Regions from separate parts of the Homo sapiens genome. Here region 1 is linked to region 2. Evidence: promoter capture Hi-C in human tissues and cell types (Jung and others, 2019). All regions are on one chromosome and are shown on one strand. The core of a region is centred on a gene start or on the middle of the fragment in contact, and the rest is flanking DNA. Distances in the headings are between cores, read along the strand shown.

Evidence for each region. The method cuts DNA at HindIII sites, captures the fragments that hold promoters and counts their contacts. A contact is called where the count stands out against the background at its distance.
Region 1: a contact is called between a fragment that was not itself captured here and the fragment with the promoter of SH3BP5 in region 2, in 1 of the 25 tissues and cell types used here (liver).

The regions. Positions count from the first base shown.
Region 1 is chr3:15,196,366-15,203,443 of GRCh38, reverse strand. It overlaps the pseudogene COL6A4P1. Among named protein-coding and RNA genes, the nearest start is that of CAPN7, 6.3 kb to the left of the region's middle. RefSeq lists an enhancer at 628-677. The HindIII fragment of the contact is 4,934 bases long and covers 3,064-7,078 here.
Region 2 is chr3:15,330,559-15,337,915 of GRCh38, reverse strand. It overlaps SH3BP5 (SH3 domain binding protein 5), which reads left to right and starts at 5,330. Exons shown (of 9, transcript NM_004844.5): 1 at 5,330-5,645; 2 at 7,350-7,357. The coding sequence starts at 5,508. RefSeq lists silencers at 5,222-5,621, 5,702-5,761. The HindIII fragment of the contact is 12,246 bases long and covers 1-6,551 here.

The DNA.
Region 1 (7,078 bases), core at 4,281-6,780, 130 kb after region 2:
GCTGTGGGAAGAGATGGAAAATGAGACTTTAGAGCTGTGCTTCTCACATTTAGCTGCTTTGGAACCACCCAGGGATCTGATTATATATAGGTTTCTGGGCTCCATCCTAGAATGCCTGGGTCAGTAGGGTTGGGCAGGGCCTGGGAATCTGCATTTCTGCAGATTCTGACAAGTGATGCTGCTGGTGCAGAGACCACACTTTGAGAACCACTGCTCTAGATTTAGAAGGGAGTCACTGAAAGCTTAAGGCCCGTTCCCAGTCAAGTCTCTTGACCATGGCTTCATGGCCTTGAAATTCAGCACTCAGGGGAAGAGTGGATCATGCTAAGGACAGCAAAGACAGGGGTGAGTTAAATTCCCTCCCTGCAGTCCCATCTCTGCTGTGCTGGATCCCTGGCCTTGAAGCTTCCTTCCTTCTTAGTTTTTTCCCCTGTGACCCTCTAGGACACATGCTATGTTGCTGTTGGTCTTTGGTAGTTGCCCTCTCTCACAGTTGGGTGGGACAAGTCATCCTATTTACTACAGATCCTCACCAACTGTGCTGGGTTTATGCAGATTCCTGAGAGCACACTGTCACCTTGTGTTCATATGTGGCACTGCAGCTAGGTGTTACCTCATAGGGGCTTGTGGTCACAACTTTATCCTTTCAACAAACATTTCATTAAAATATCTACCATGGCCGGGTGTGGTGGCTCACACCTGTAATCTCAGCACTTTGGGAGGCCGAGGTGGGTGGATCACCCGAGGTCAGGAGTTCGAGACCAGCCTGGCCAACATGGCAAAACTTCATCTCTACTAAAAATACAAAAAATTAGCCAGGTATGGTGGCAGGTGCCTGTAATCCCAGCTACTTGGGAGGCTGAGGCAGGAGAATTGCTTGAACCAGGGAGGCATAGGTTATAATCCCAGCACTTTGGGAGGCTGAGGCAGGTGGATCACCTGAAGTCAGGAGTTCGAGACCAGCCTGGCCAACATAGTGAAACCTTGTCTCTACTAAAAACACAAAAAATTAGCCAAGCATTTTGGTGGGCGCCTGTAATCCCAGCTACTCAGGAGTCTGACACAGGAGAATCGCTTGAACCCAGGAGGCGGAGGTTGCAGTGAGCCGAGATCACGCCATTGCACTCCAGCCTGGGCAACAAGAGCGAAACTCCATCTAAAATAAATAAATAAATATCTACCATAATCCCTGAAGAGCACAATAATTTTCAAGTCCAGGGCTCTCTGGGGCTCTTTAGAGATAACAGCACCATCCCTGAGGCAAGGTATGGAGCAAATTTGAGAAGCAAATTTTAGGAAGAAGTGAGTTGGGGCAGTTACTACTAGCTCTAGACAGTTCAAGGGAACGTAGGTCCAATATATTTTTTTAAATCAAGAGAAGCCAGAAATTTAAATCTTGGTGTAAAAAATACTGACTTTTAAGTAAAAATAAAGTGAAATGTTTTCCCCCTTTTTTTTTTTTTGACAGAGTTTTCACTCTTGTTGCCCAGGCTGGAGTGCAATGGTGCAATCTCAGCTCACTGAAACCTCCGCCTCCTGGGTTCAAGCAGTTCTCCTGCCTCAGCCTCCCAAGTAGCTTGAATTACAGGCATGCGGCACCACGCCCGGCTAGTTTTTTGTATTTAGTAGAGATGGGGTTTCACCATGTTGGTCAGGCTCGTCTCGAACTGCTGACCTCAGGTGATCCACCCGCCTCGGCCTCCCAAAGTGCTGGGATTACAATTGTGAGCCACCACTCCTGGCCAGTGAAATGTTTTTCTAAGTACTAAGAGACAACATTGCACATCTACAGGCTACACTGGGCTCATATCCTGTTATTTTGATCCTTTCTTGGTACTTTAATTCCTTTACATAATTTTAGAGCAGTCTCAAGAAGGAGAGAAGGTAAATGCTGACATTTGTGGATACAGTGGTGTGAAAACAGGCCCTCCTCTCATAGGGCTTTTGGCCTACTGGGAGGACACAGGCATTAATCAATCAATAAAGGCCATTAGTGAATGAATCATTACAAATGTAGACGAGTACTCCAAAGGTAATCAACAGTTTTGTAAGAGCTTATGAAAAGGAAACTGACCTGAACTAGGGGGTCAGCAAAGACTTTCCCTGAGATAGAAGGAACTGCTTGTGCAGTGGCCAGTGGCAAAACTGAACATGGAACAGAGGCCAGTGTAGCTGGAGCAGACACAGTGAAATGCAGGCAGAGGCTCAGAAGGTGAGGGTGTCAGGCATGAGACCATGTAGGGCCTTGTAGGCCCTGTTAAGAGTTTGGGTTTCTATCTTAATTCTCAGTACACCATTGTGGACTGCTACACTCAATTTTAATTTGAGTTTCTTTATAGAGGGGTTCTAAATATTTGTAAGGATTGATATTTCAATGACTTTTGTTCTTTATTAGAGATCTTCCAAAGAACCAAGATAAAATTTTAATTTATAAATTATATATATTTATAAATGAATTTATGTATTAAATGTATAAATAAATTTATAAATATACATTTATAAATATATATTATATATTTATAAATTTTCCTATATATATAATAAAGCTCATTCTATCTTACGATTACCATATGAGCCCATTGGATCCCTTTATAATCTAAGCTACCTTTTGGAATCTAAGCTACCTTTTGGGATCCTTCTGTACATGTTAAAATATTTTGATATTTTATCATTCTATGAATTATTTCATCATTACTCAATAATTACAAGCTATCATTTAAAAATACTAAAATAATAGGACAACAGAAGAAAGATGAAATGCCTAAATGGATAAAGTAATTGTGAAATAATAATTATTAAATTAGCCTTCAGTTTTCCTGTTGCATTGTCCAAAGTATTGCATTGTCCCTCAAAAAGGTATAAGAGAAGTCTGGAGATACTATCTTTGGAGCACAGTTTTAGTTTTCTTTCTAATTAAGCTTTCTATTTTGAGATAATTGTAACTTAACATGCTATTGTAAGAAATAACACAGAAATCTCATATACACTTTATCTAGTTTATCTCAGTAGTAATAGCTTGCATAACTCTAGTACAACATAATGACCAGGAAATTGACGTTGATACAGTTCACCAATTTTACACTTTCAGTTTTCATTGGACAAAGTAGATCAGGGGTCACCAACCCCTGAGCTGTAGACTGATATCATCTCTGTCCTGTTAGGAACAATGTTGCACAGCAGGAGGTGAGTGGTGGGCAAGTGAGCGAAGCTTCATTTCTATTTACAGCTGCTCCCCATCATTCATATTACTGCCTGAGCTCTGCCTCCGGTCAGATCAGCCACAGCATTAGATTCTCATAGTAGTTCAAAACCTGCTGTGAACTCTGCATGCGAAGGATCTAGGTTGCGTGCTCCTTATGAGAATCTAATGCCTGATGATCTGAGGTGGAGCTGAGGCAGTGATGCTAACGCTGGGGAGTGGCTGCAAATACAGATTAACACTAGCAGAGGTTTGACTGCACAGAGACCATAATAAATTGCTTGTGATCTCATATCAAAACCCTATCAGTGAGCGGCAAGTGACAATGAAGCTGCATCTGGTGGTAGGCTTTATAGTGGTAACTGAGTTGATGTACTTCAATTGTACAGCTGCATCTGGTGGCAGGCTTGAAGTTAGAATCCAACACTTATTTTAGTCCTCACGTGGAGTGCGTGGCCTGCAGTCCTCTTTCCCACGCTACCCACTTGTCTCAGTCAGTTTTGGTAAGCCCACAAGCTAACCCAAACCCAAATGAGTAAAAATCAGTTGTCACTGGAAAACTTATTTGAAAAGGGGAAAGACCCAATGATGACACAGCAGAAGACTCTACGACTGCCAACAGAAAGAAAGCTGCATTAAAAAAATACCAAGAGTCCTACTTAAATTATGGGTTCATTGCAACAGGTGATTCACGTTCTCCAAGCCCACGTTGTATAATGTGTGGCAACCGGCTATCCAATGAAGACATAAAACCTTCAAAACTGCTTTGCCATGTGGAGACCAAGCACCCTGCATTAAAACACAAGTCTTTGGAGTTTTCCCAAAGAAAAAAAGTGAGCATGAAGAACAGAAGCAATTACTGAAGGCCACCACTTCATCAAATGTGTCTGCACTGAGAGCATCATTCTTAGTGGCTAACCACATTGCTAAAGCTAAGAAGCCCTTTACTGTTGAAAAAGAGCTGATCCTGCCTGCTGCTGAGGACATTTGTCATGAACTTTTAGGAGGGGCTGCAGTTCAAAAGCTGGCACGTGTTCCTCTTTTGGTTGGTACCGTAACTAGAGGCATCGATGAAATAGCAGAGGATATTGAGGCACAATTGTTAGAGAGGATTAATGAGTCACTGGAGTACACAATCCAGGTTGACAAGTCTACTGATGTTGACAACAAGGCAACAATATTTGTTTTTGTGTGACATATTTTTCAAGAGGATGTGCATAAGGGTATGTTTTGGGTACTTTTGTTGCCAACCAATACCACAGCTGCAGAACTATTTAAGTCTTTGAATGATTACATGTCTGGAAACTGAATTGATCATTTTGTGTCAGTTTATGCAAGGACATAGTGGCTGCCATGACTAGATGGCTTTCTGGTTTCACTGCTTGGGTCAAAGAGGTCGCTTGTGAATGTGAGTCTATGCAGTGTGTCATCCATAGAAAAATGCTGGTTAGCTGAAAAATGTCACCTGAACTTAACGTTTTGCAGGATGTGATTAAAATTACCAACCACATTAAAGTACATACCCTTAACTAACATCTGTTCACGCAGCTCTGTGAGAAGATGGACGCAGAGCACACGTGTCTTCTCTTATACACAGAAGTGAGGTGGCTTTCTAAAGGTAGATCACTGGCCAGAGTTTCTGAGTTATGAGCCTCCAGAGATTTCTTTTAGAAAAACAGTCACCATTGGCAGCACATTTCAGTGACACAGAATGGGTCTCAAAACTTGCTTCCTTGTGTGACATATTCAACCTGCTCAATGAACTCAATCTATCACTTCAGAGGAGAACAACAACTGTGTTCAAGTCAGCAGATAAAGTGGCTGCATTCAAAGCCAAGCTGGAGTTATGGGGGTGACAAGGGAACACTGGGATTTTTGACATGTTTCAAACATTAGCAGAGATTTTGAAAGAGACTGAGCCAGGGCCTTCTTTCTTCCAGCCGGTGCATGATCACCCATCTCAGTTTTCAAAAGAGTTTGAGCATTACTTCCCAACCACAAAAGACCCCCAAACTAGGAAGGAATGGATCTGCAACCCATTTGTGAATAAGCCAGGTAAATCAACTTTGTGCTAGAAGAGGATCAACTGCTTGAGATTGCAAATGATGGTGGCCTTAAAAGTATGTTTGAGACAACTTCAAATCTTCGTATGTTCTGGACTAAAGTCAAAGTGGTAGCCTGAGATTGCCACAAAAGCACTGAAAAGCCTGCTTCCATTTCTAACATCCTATCTTTATGAAGCAGGGTTTTTTGTAGTGAGAGAAACCATAATGAGATTATGGAGTAGACTGGACATAAGCAACACATTTCAGGTGTCACTGTCTTCCATCACCCCCAGATGGGACCATCTAGTTGCAGGAAAACAAGCTCAGGGCTCCCACATATTCTGCATTATGTGAATTGTGTAATTATTTCATCATATATTACAATGTAATAATAGTAGTAACAAAGTGCACAATAAATGTAGTGTGCTCGAATCATCCCCTCCCCATCCCCGCAGTCTGTGGAAAAATGGTCTTTCATGGAACTGGTCCCTGACACCAAAAAGGTTGGGGACTGCTGATGTAGAGATTAAATTTTTTTCATGTCCACTCTAATGACGAAAACAAGCAAATTGATGGAGAAAGTCATTTCACAATTTTGTTACCATTTTCTAACTTTGCAAACCTTCAGCACACTGATTAATATCTCTAAGCCTCAATTTTTCTCATCTGTAAAATAGGTAGATTAGTAACTACCTCATAAAGTTTTAGAAGGATTGAATGAGATAATGCCAGTAAAGCCTTTAGCACAACACCTGGCACATATGAAGTATTTGACAAAGTTATGTCCTGCAACACTTGACTGTGCTCTTTACTCTTCATGACTGTGTTCTTTTGGGATAATCTGTCAGTGCAGGGGCAGAAGAAATGGTTACAGAACCATTTAACCCTTATCTCATTTACCTCTGAGCTGCTTGGAATTCCACTTCCTGAACTCTGATCATCTTGGGAAACAGAAGCAACAACAGCATCCTCTGAAGAGCTCAGTCATTGATAGGCAATGGGAGTGTTTATCACATCTTTTTCTTATAGTCTCTGAGTGCAGCTTCACAATCCTTTACTGCACCCTTAAGCCAGATGTGTTTTGGAATTTGAAATTCACAGAGAACTCCCAGACAGTAGGACTGAATCTTGATAAGGAACTGGAAGCATATACCAAACTGCATTTCAGAATTTTTCTAGATTATTGCAGTGTGCTTGCCTCTTCCTCCCTTTCGAGTAGGATTTTCCTATAGGGATCATCTTATGCCTCTTATCACTGTGCGTTGGGTGTGTGTGTGGGCGGGGGGGGGGGTGCAGATTGTCTCTTTAACAGAGCTCTAATCAAAAGGAGTGATATTTAAGGAGCTGCACCCAAATGAACCACACCAAGGCATCTCATCTTCACCTGAACCTGATTTAGATGACAAGCTCCTGGACTTCAAGCTGATGTTTTAATAGTTTGAGACTTGAGAATTCTAGGGGTGTGATTTGAATGTATTTTGCATGTGGGAGGCATGAGAAATATGGCCAGAAAGCAAACTGTGGCAGACTGTATTTTACAAATAGGCCAAAAGCTTTATCTTACATCCCACGTGATCTCCTTACAAGGGTATCTTCATGTCCCTTCTTTTAAGCGGTAGGATCTTTGTCCCCTACCATGCATCCTGGACATAACTTTGTGACTGCCTTGACTAATAGTGTATAGTGGAAGTGCTACCATCTAACTTATGAGGCTAAATCATAAAATGCCACTCACTTGTACCTTGCTCTTATCATCTAGACACCTTGGACTGGATGACATAATTTGCATTGTTTTAGTAGTTACAGCTTCTACGTGGCTGATGGCTAAAATAGT
Region 2 (7,357 bases), core at 4,081-6,580:
TGAGTCAGGGTCTCACTCTGTCACCCAGGCTATAGTGCCATGGCACTTCCTTAGTTCACTGCAGCCTCGAGCTCCTGGGCTCAGGGGATCCTCCTGCCTCACCCTCCTGGGTAGTTAGGACTATAGGTACACACCACCACACTCCGCTAATTAAAAATTTTTTTTTGGTAGAGATGTGGGGAGGCTCTTACTATGTTGCCCAGGCTGGTCTTGAACTCCTGGCCTCAAGCGATCCTCCTCCCTTGGCCTCTCAAAGTGCTGGGATTACAGGTGTGAGACCTGGCCTGGGGCCCAGGTTTCATGAGGGCCTGTCTCCCCAAGTAAAGGACTAGGAATTTGTCATCTACATGTTTGGGACCCTCAAACTGGCCCCAGAAATAGTGTATGCATATAGTAGGGGCTGAAAAGTGTACTGAATTAATGTTGCTTTCTGCAGATCTAGATCTAAAAACAAAAAACAGAACAAAAATACAAATGAATTAATGTTGTTGATCACTTTCACTTGCAAACTTCAGTTTAAAAACATTAAATAAAAACTCTTGGCCGGGCACGGTGGCTCTCGCCTGTAATCCCAGCACTTTGGGAGGCTGAGGTGGGTGGATCAGGAGTTCAAGACCAGCCTGGCCAACATGGTGAAACTTCATCTCTACTAAAAATATAAATATTAGCTGGGTGTGGTGGCAGGCGCCTATAATCCCAGCTACACAGGAGGCTGAGGCAGGAGAATAGCTTGAACCCAGGAGGCGGAGGTTGCAGTGAGCTAACACCACCGCACTCCAGCCTGGGTGACATAGCGCGACTCTGTCCCAAAAAAAAAAAAAAAAAAAAAAACTAAACTAAAAAAAACCCCAACTCTTTGGCTGAGTGTGGTGGCTCACGCCTATAATTCCAGCACTTTAGCTTAGCTACTAAGTACAGGTAAAAAGTAGTAAGACTGTGGGATTGAACCAGGGTTGGGATTATGCCAAGTGCTTACAGTGGTCGGGGAGAAGCGTGAGGGAGTTGTGGTTGACTGTAGTGTGGTGATTTTAATGATGGACAATGGAATCTAAGCTAGATCAAATGGGAAGTGTGGACATAAGAGGGTGAGGGACTGTAAAAGAGTCTAGGGAGCCATGATGAAGCCCTGAATCAAGGGTTAGAAAGATGGGAATGATTTGGAGACTATACTATAGGAAAATCCACTCGTCCTTGCTGACTGGGTTCACTGGGACTCTCAAACCATAGGTGGGTCCTTAGCGCAACCTGGCGATTATAATATATTCCCATGGTCAACTCAGTCACCAACTGTCCCTGCAAGCTCTTTCACAAAGCCTCTCTCCTCCAACCTCCATTGCCCTCTGCCCCACATCCCCTCATTCTCAGCTGATGATGTGGCTCATTACTTTGCTGAAAAAACAGAAGCAATCAGAAGAGGCTGATCATCAGGCTAATGGATCTCCTTTGTCTCCTCTGACCCTAGCTCCTCAATGTCCACCGAGTCAATTTCTCATACACTAGCCAGAGTTATTACAGGAGCACTCACTCAGAACAAAATCCAAATTCCTTACCATGACCTAAAGCATCTCCGTGGCCTACCCACATGCTTGCCTCTGATTTCATCTCCCTCCCTCTCTCCCTGGCTGTCTCTGTCCTACCCACATGGATCTCCTTGCTTTTTTGCCAACACCCAAGGCATATTCCCACCTCAGGACCTTTGCACATGCTGCTGCAGTCTCTGGAGTGCTTTTCCCCCAAAAGTATATGTGGTACGCTTTCTCATTTCTTTCTTTCTTTTTTTTGAGACGGAGTTTCACTCTTATCGCCCACGCTGGAGTGCAATGGTGCCATCTCGGCTCACTACAACCTCTGCCTCCTGGGTCCAGGTGATTCTCCTGCCTCAGCCTCCAGAGTAGCTGGGATTACAGGCATAAGCCACCATACCTGACCAGTATGCATTATTTTAAATTTATCTTTAAATTCCACAAAACAATCATAAACATATCTTCCTTGTGAAAAATAAAAACATTACTGAGAAACTAACATTCCTTTGATCCCCTGCCCCCATCCCAGACAATCCTAGGCCACGCCCTGCTCCCTTTTTCCCAGAGGTAGCCACTCTTTACTGGGTATAAATCCTTCCAGGCCTTTTGCTATGCATTTATGTGCACTACATATGTGCCAATAGGGAATATATACAGTTGTCCCTTGATATCCCTGGGGGATTGGTTTCTGGACCCCTGCAATGCTAAAATCTGAGATGCTTATGTCCCCTGTAGAAAATGGCAGTGTTTACATATAACCTACATACAACCTCCTGTATACTTTATTTAATTTATTTTTTCATTAAAAACATTTTTTTTTTGAGATAGGGTCTCCCTCTGTCACCCAGGCTGGAGTACAGTGGCATGATCGGGGTCACTGCAGCTTTGACTTCCTGGGCTCAAGTGATCTACCTCAGCCTCCAGAGTAGCTGGAACTACAGGCATGTGCTACCATGCCTTGCTAATTTAAAACAATTTTTATTAGAGATGAGGTGTTTCTTTTTTCTTTTTTTTTGAGAGAAAGTCCTACTCTGTCGTTCAGGCTGGAATGCAGTGGTATCATCTCGGTTCACTGCAACCTCTGCCTCCTGGGTTCAAGCGATTCTTCTGCCTCAGCCTCTCGAGTAGCTGGGATTACAGGCATGTGCCACCATGCCCAGCTAATTTTTGTATTTTTACCATGTTGTCCTGGCTGGTCTCAAACTCCTGACCTCAGGTGATCCACCTGCCTCGGCCTCCCAAAGTGCTAGGATTACAGATGTGAGCCACCATGCCTGGCCTAGAGACCAGGTCTTGCTTTGTTGTCCAGGCTGGTCTCAAACGCCTGGCCTCAAGCGATCGTCTCTCCTGCCTCGGCCTCCCAAAGGACTGAGATTACAGGCATGAGCCACCACATCTGGCCCCTCCTGTATACTTTATTATTTATATATATATATTTATTTTGAGACAGGGTCTTGCTGTCACCTAAGCTGGGGGGCAGTGGTGCAATCTCAGCTCACTGCAACCTCTACCTCCTGGGCTTAAGCAATCTTCCCATCTCAGCCTCCCAAATAGCTGTGACTACAGGCATGAGCCACCACACTTGGCGAATTTTTTGTATTTTTTGTAGAGATGGTGTTTCACCATGTTGTCCAGGCTGGTCTTGAACTCCTGAGCTCAAGCAACCCACCCACCTTGGCTTTCCAAAGTATTGAGATTACAGGCATGAACCACCATGAGCAGCCCCTCCTGTATACTTTAAGTCAGCTCTAGATTTCTTACCTGCAATACCTAATACAATGCAAATATGTACATAGTTGTCATATACTGTATTTTTTTTTTTTCTAGAGAGCAAGGCAGTCTCGCTTTGTTGCCCAGGCTGGTCTGGAACTCCCGGCCTCCAGTGATCCTCCTTGCCTCAGCCTCCCAAAATGCTAGGATTACAGGTGTTAGCCACCACTCCTGGCCATGTATTTTTAAATATGCATTTTTTTAATTGTTGTGTTTTTTTCCCCCAAATATTTTCTATCTGTGGTTAGTTGAATTTACACATGTGGAACCTGAGAGGCTATGGAGGGTTGACTGTATATAGTACTGCCTGTGGTTTATTTATTTTTCTCATTTTATCTTTAGAAAGACTATTAGGATTAACACTATAGCTGGCCCAGATCTCCAAAAAATAAGACAACAAAAGTCTGAACTGATGTTCTTGAGCAGTTGGCCTATGTCTCATAGATGTATTTTGCTCTTGACCTAAGCTTAAGCAGGAATGTAGTTTGGAGTTTGCCATTTAGAATGGAGAGGATAGGGTTCTGCTAGCTGAGAAGCATTTATCATAGTCAGGGCTGACCCCAGAGTTCTGTTTATTTCAAACTCTGTCTCTCAGTTCATTCAGAGCTAGGATGTACCTGCAAAGTTGGAGGCTCAATTCCAAGCCACCAGAGAAGGTTGGTGGCTCCTGTGTTCCAAAGTGACCCCTATGGCTATCTTGTTCCTGGCTTCATCTATCATTGGAAAACCAAAAGCAACTATGTCTTTAGCAAGGAGCTTTGAAGCACCTCTCACAGAATTGCTGACTCATCCTTGATTTAAAGAGCAATGAACAGGTCTGACCTTTTTAGAAACAAACCATGGCACTACCTCCAGGAGACAGGACAAATTTCCTTTGACAGTGGACTACAGTGCCAGCGTGTATGGGGTGGTGCCTTGCCCAAGGAGTAACCCTCTAGCCTAGTTTCTGATAAAACCACCAGGAGCAGGACTATTTATTCATTTGAGAAGGGGTCTGGCTGTATTGTCCAGGCTGGTGTTGAACTCCTGGCCTCAAGTGATCCTTGTGTCCTGGCATCTCAAAGAGCTGGGATTACAGATACGAGCCACCACGTTGTGCCAGACCCAGGTTTTGTAAGGTGGCTTTGATGATAGGTTCTCAGAAAGAAGCTCCTTTCTCAAGCAAATTTGTCCTCCAAACTCAGAGCCGATGGGCTACAGGCCTCCGTGTAGGACATGTGCACGTTCTGCATTTCTCAAGGCAAGGAGACGTGAGCAGCCATGTGCTCATCTGCTTTGCCAAGGTCATCCTTTGCGTTCCCCTGACATCACAGTGGCCCTGACATTTCATAAAAGCACACACACGTGCCTCTTCAGTTTGGCCTTTTCGGATGCTGTGTCTGCCAGGCCAACTCTGTCTCCCTACTTGTTGATGGTGGGCAGAAAGTCTCACTAATTCATAAATTCTTGGCCAGAGTGTGCCCATCAACAGGGGTTACACTTGCCACCTCCTTAAATCCCAGCTCAATGCATTCTCCATGCTCCTGGCTATTCAGGTAGGACCGCCGCACCTCTGTGTTTCGGTATGGGGCTCGCCCAGAGAGGCCGCAGCCTTCGGCAATGCATCAGTGCACGGAACCTCCGCCATTCCCAAGGTTCGCTCAAGAGGATGAGTGTGCTTTGGGTATAGGGTTTCGGCAAGTCTTGGTCCTGAGGGCCAGGGTCACTGAGCGTAGGCTTCAGAAGGCGACTTCAGTGTGAAAACACCCACGCCTCCCTACCACACAAACAACGAGCCTCGGAGGAGGGCTGGAGGAGGGGACTCCCGAAAGCGGGAGGCTTGCGTTACGTAGTTGAGATATATCCGAGCTGCTAAGTTACAAGGGGGTGGGGGCTGTCCTATTTTGCCACCTTGGAGATGTGGAGGGAGCTGGGGTTTTGCGACGGAGACCTGGATAGCTGGGACTGGCGGCGGAACGCGAGGCCGGGGCGGGACGGGGGCGGAGCGGGCGCTGCGCTGACTGCCGCGGCAGAAAGGGGGCGGCCGCGCCCATTTCCTCTGCTCCGCCGCGGCCGGAGGTATCCGCATCGGCGAGCTGCGTCTCCCGGGTGTCGGCCCCGGCGGCTCCCCGACCGTGCCCGGCTGTGGCGAGGCGGCTCCAGCCCAGCCTGTGGCAGCCGCGACCCCCGGGGCGCTCCGGAGCCCACTGCGCGGCGCGCGTGCCGGCTGCCTGCATGGACGCGGCACTGAAGCGGAGCCGCTCGGAGGAGCCAGCCGAAATCCTGCCGCCTGCCCGGGACGAGGAGGAGGAGGAGGAAGAGGGGATGGAGCAGGGGCTGGAGGAGGAAGAAGAGGTGGATCCCCGGATCCAGGTAGGGCGCGCGGGGTCGCCCCGCATCCGGGCTTCGCGAGGGCTGCTACGGAGGTCGGTGTCTACGCGTACAGCCACTTCGCAGCCCCCAGTAACTGTGGTCCGGGGACTGGCGGCCACATAGGGTGGCAGGAGACGGTCTGTATGCTCCGTTTCATCGTCTCCACAATGAGGAGGCTACAGTGCCCGCGTGGATGCGGCCTGACTCTATTGCGGGGAGTCCCCCGCCGACCCGTAGCAGGATCGGGGTCGGTGCAGCGTGCCTGGTGGTTCGGGTGGATGTGCAACAAAGGGAAAAAGGGGGCGGGGGCGCCATGGTATCCTCGGGGGTACCCCTGCCCGGCCGCGGCACCGCGGGCATGGCACGGCGTCCAGGCTCTGCGAGGAGGTGTCGCCCGCGTGGGCGCCGGGCACCGTGGGCGGGTGGGCGTTGCCCTGCAGCGCGGGCTGGCACCGGTGCCCCGGGTGCAGAGTCCTCACTTGCCAAGGTGCCCGGCCTGAGCCGTTTTCCTTCTCTGATTGATTGTTAGCGAACTGAGCGGCTTATTGTCATCACTGGCTCAACGTTCTGCCTGGCTTGAAATTGCTTAAAACCCTGCTTTTCCTTGTTGTGAGGTTGGGCATGAAAAGAAATCGGGGACAACTGATGCGCAAAGCTGACGCGTGGAGGCGGCGAGGGGATTGGGCTGGCTGGCTGTGCCTCCATTTCCAAGAGAGATGATTAAAAAACAATTTCCAAGCCGAGATCTAGGAGTGACAGTTTCACCTCTTCACCCCTAAGCAAAAAGCAGAGCAAATCCCTTTCTAAGGCCCGTTTTTTTTCTACCTTTTCAATAAATCATTTTTTTAAAAAAATTGCTTTTAAGCATGCTCTGTAATTTCTGGATACCTAATTGGTTTTTTAGTGCACAGATCAATTTAAAAGCTCACTTAACTCAGTGGTTGGGGTTTAAATGAATTGTTTTGTCAGCTTAGCAAGATAAAGATCAGGTGGAAAAAAAATCCTTGCATTAGGAATGCTATTAATTAAAGTAATTGGTTTGGAATAAATCGTGTGTTACTGGTATGGGATTATGTTAGCAAGATCCTTTGTTTGCATAGTAATGATGAGTTAAGTTCATGTTGGATACTTTTTTTACAAAATGTCAGTTTGTAAATGTTTATTGAAAGGAATGGGATTAAAGCTAGTTTAAAACGTCCAGCTAAGTAGGTTGAATAATTGGCAGTGTGAAAAGATTTTCACCCTTTACAGAAAAATAATTCTGGTGAGTTAATACCAGAATTCTGCCCTTGATGATTTCACTGGGTTTATATTTTTGGCTTGGCCTTGCTTATTGTCTTTTATTGTTTTCTAAGCAAAGTTCTTGCTCAAGGCAGATGGTACTGTTTTGATTAGGCCATTAAACCATTTGTAACAGGTGGGGTTTACCTGAAGGCATGTACCTGGAATAGTTGACCTCTGACAAATTCCAAATGTCTCTGAAGACATTGTCAAAAGGGACACCCTCAAGAAAATGGTTTCAGAAATGCCGACATTCATTTGCTTTTCTAGTCAAGCCTCAACTGTTTGCCGTAAGAATTAATTCTGATTCTTCCCTTTTCCTGCAAATTGGGCTGGGGTAATTTTTCAGGTTATGGACTGAGTTATATTGGAAACAAAAGACGGATCCCTTAAGTCTTTTTTTCTCCCTCTTTTCTTCACCAGGGAGAACT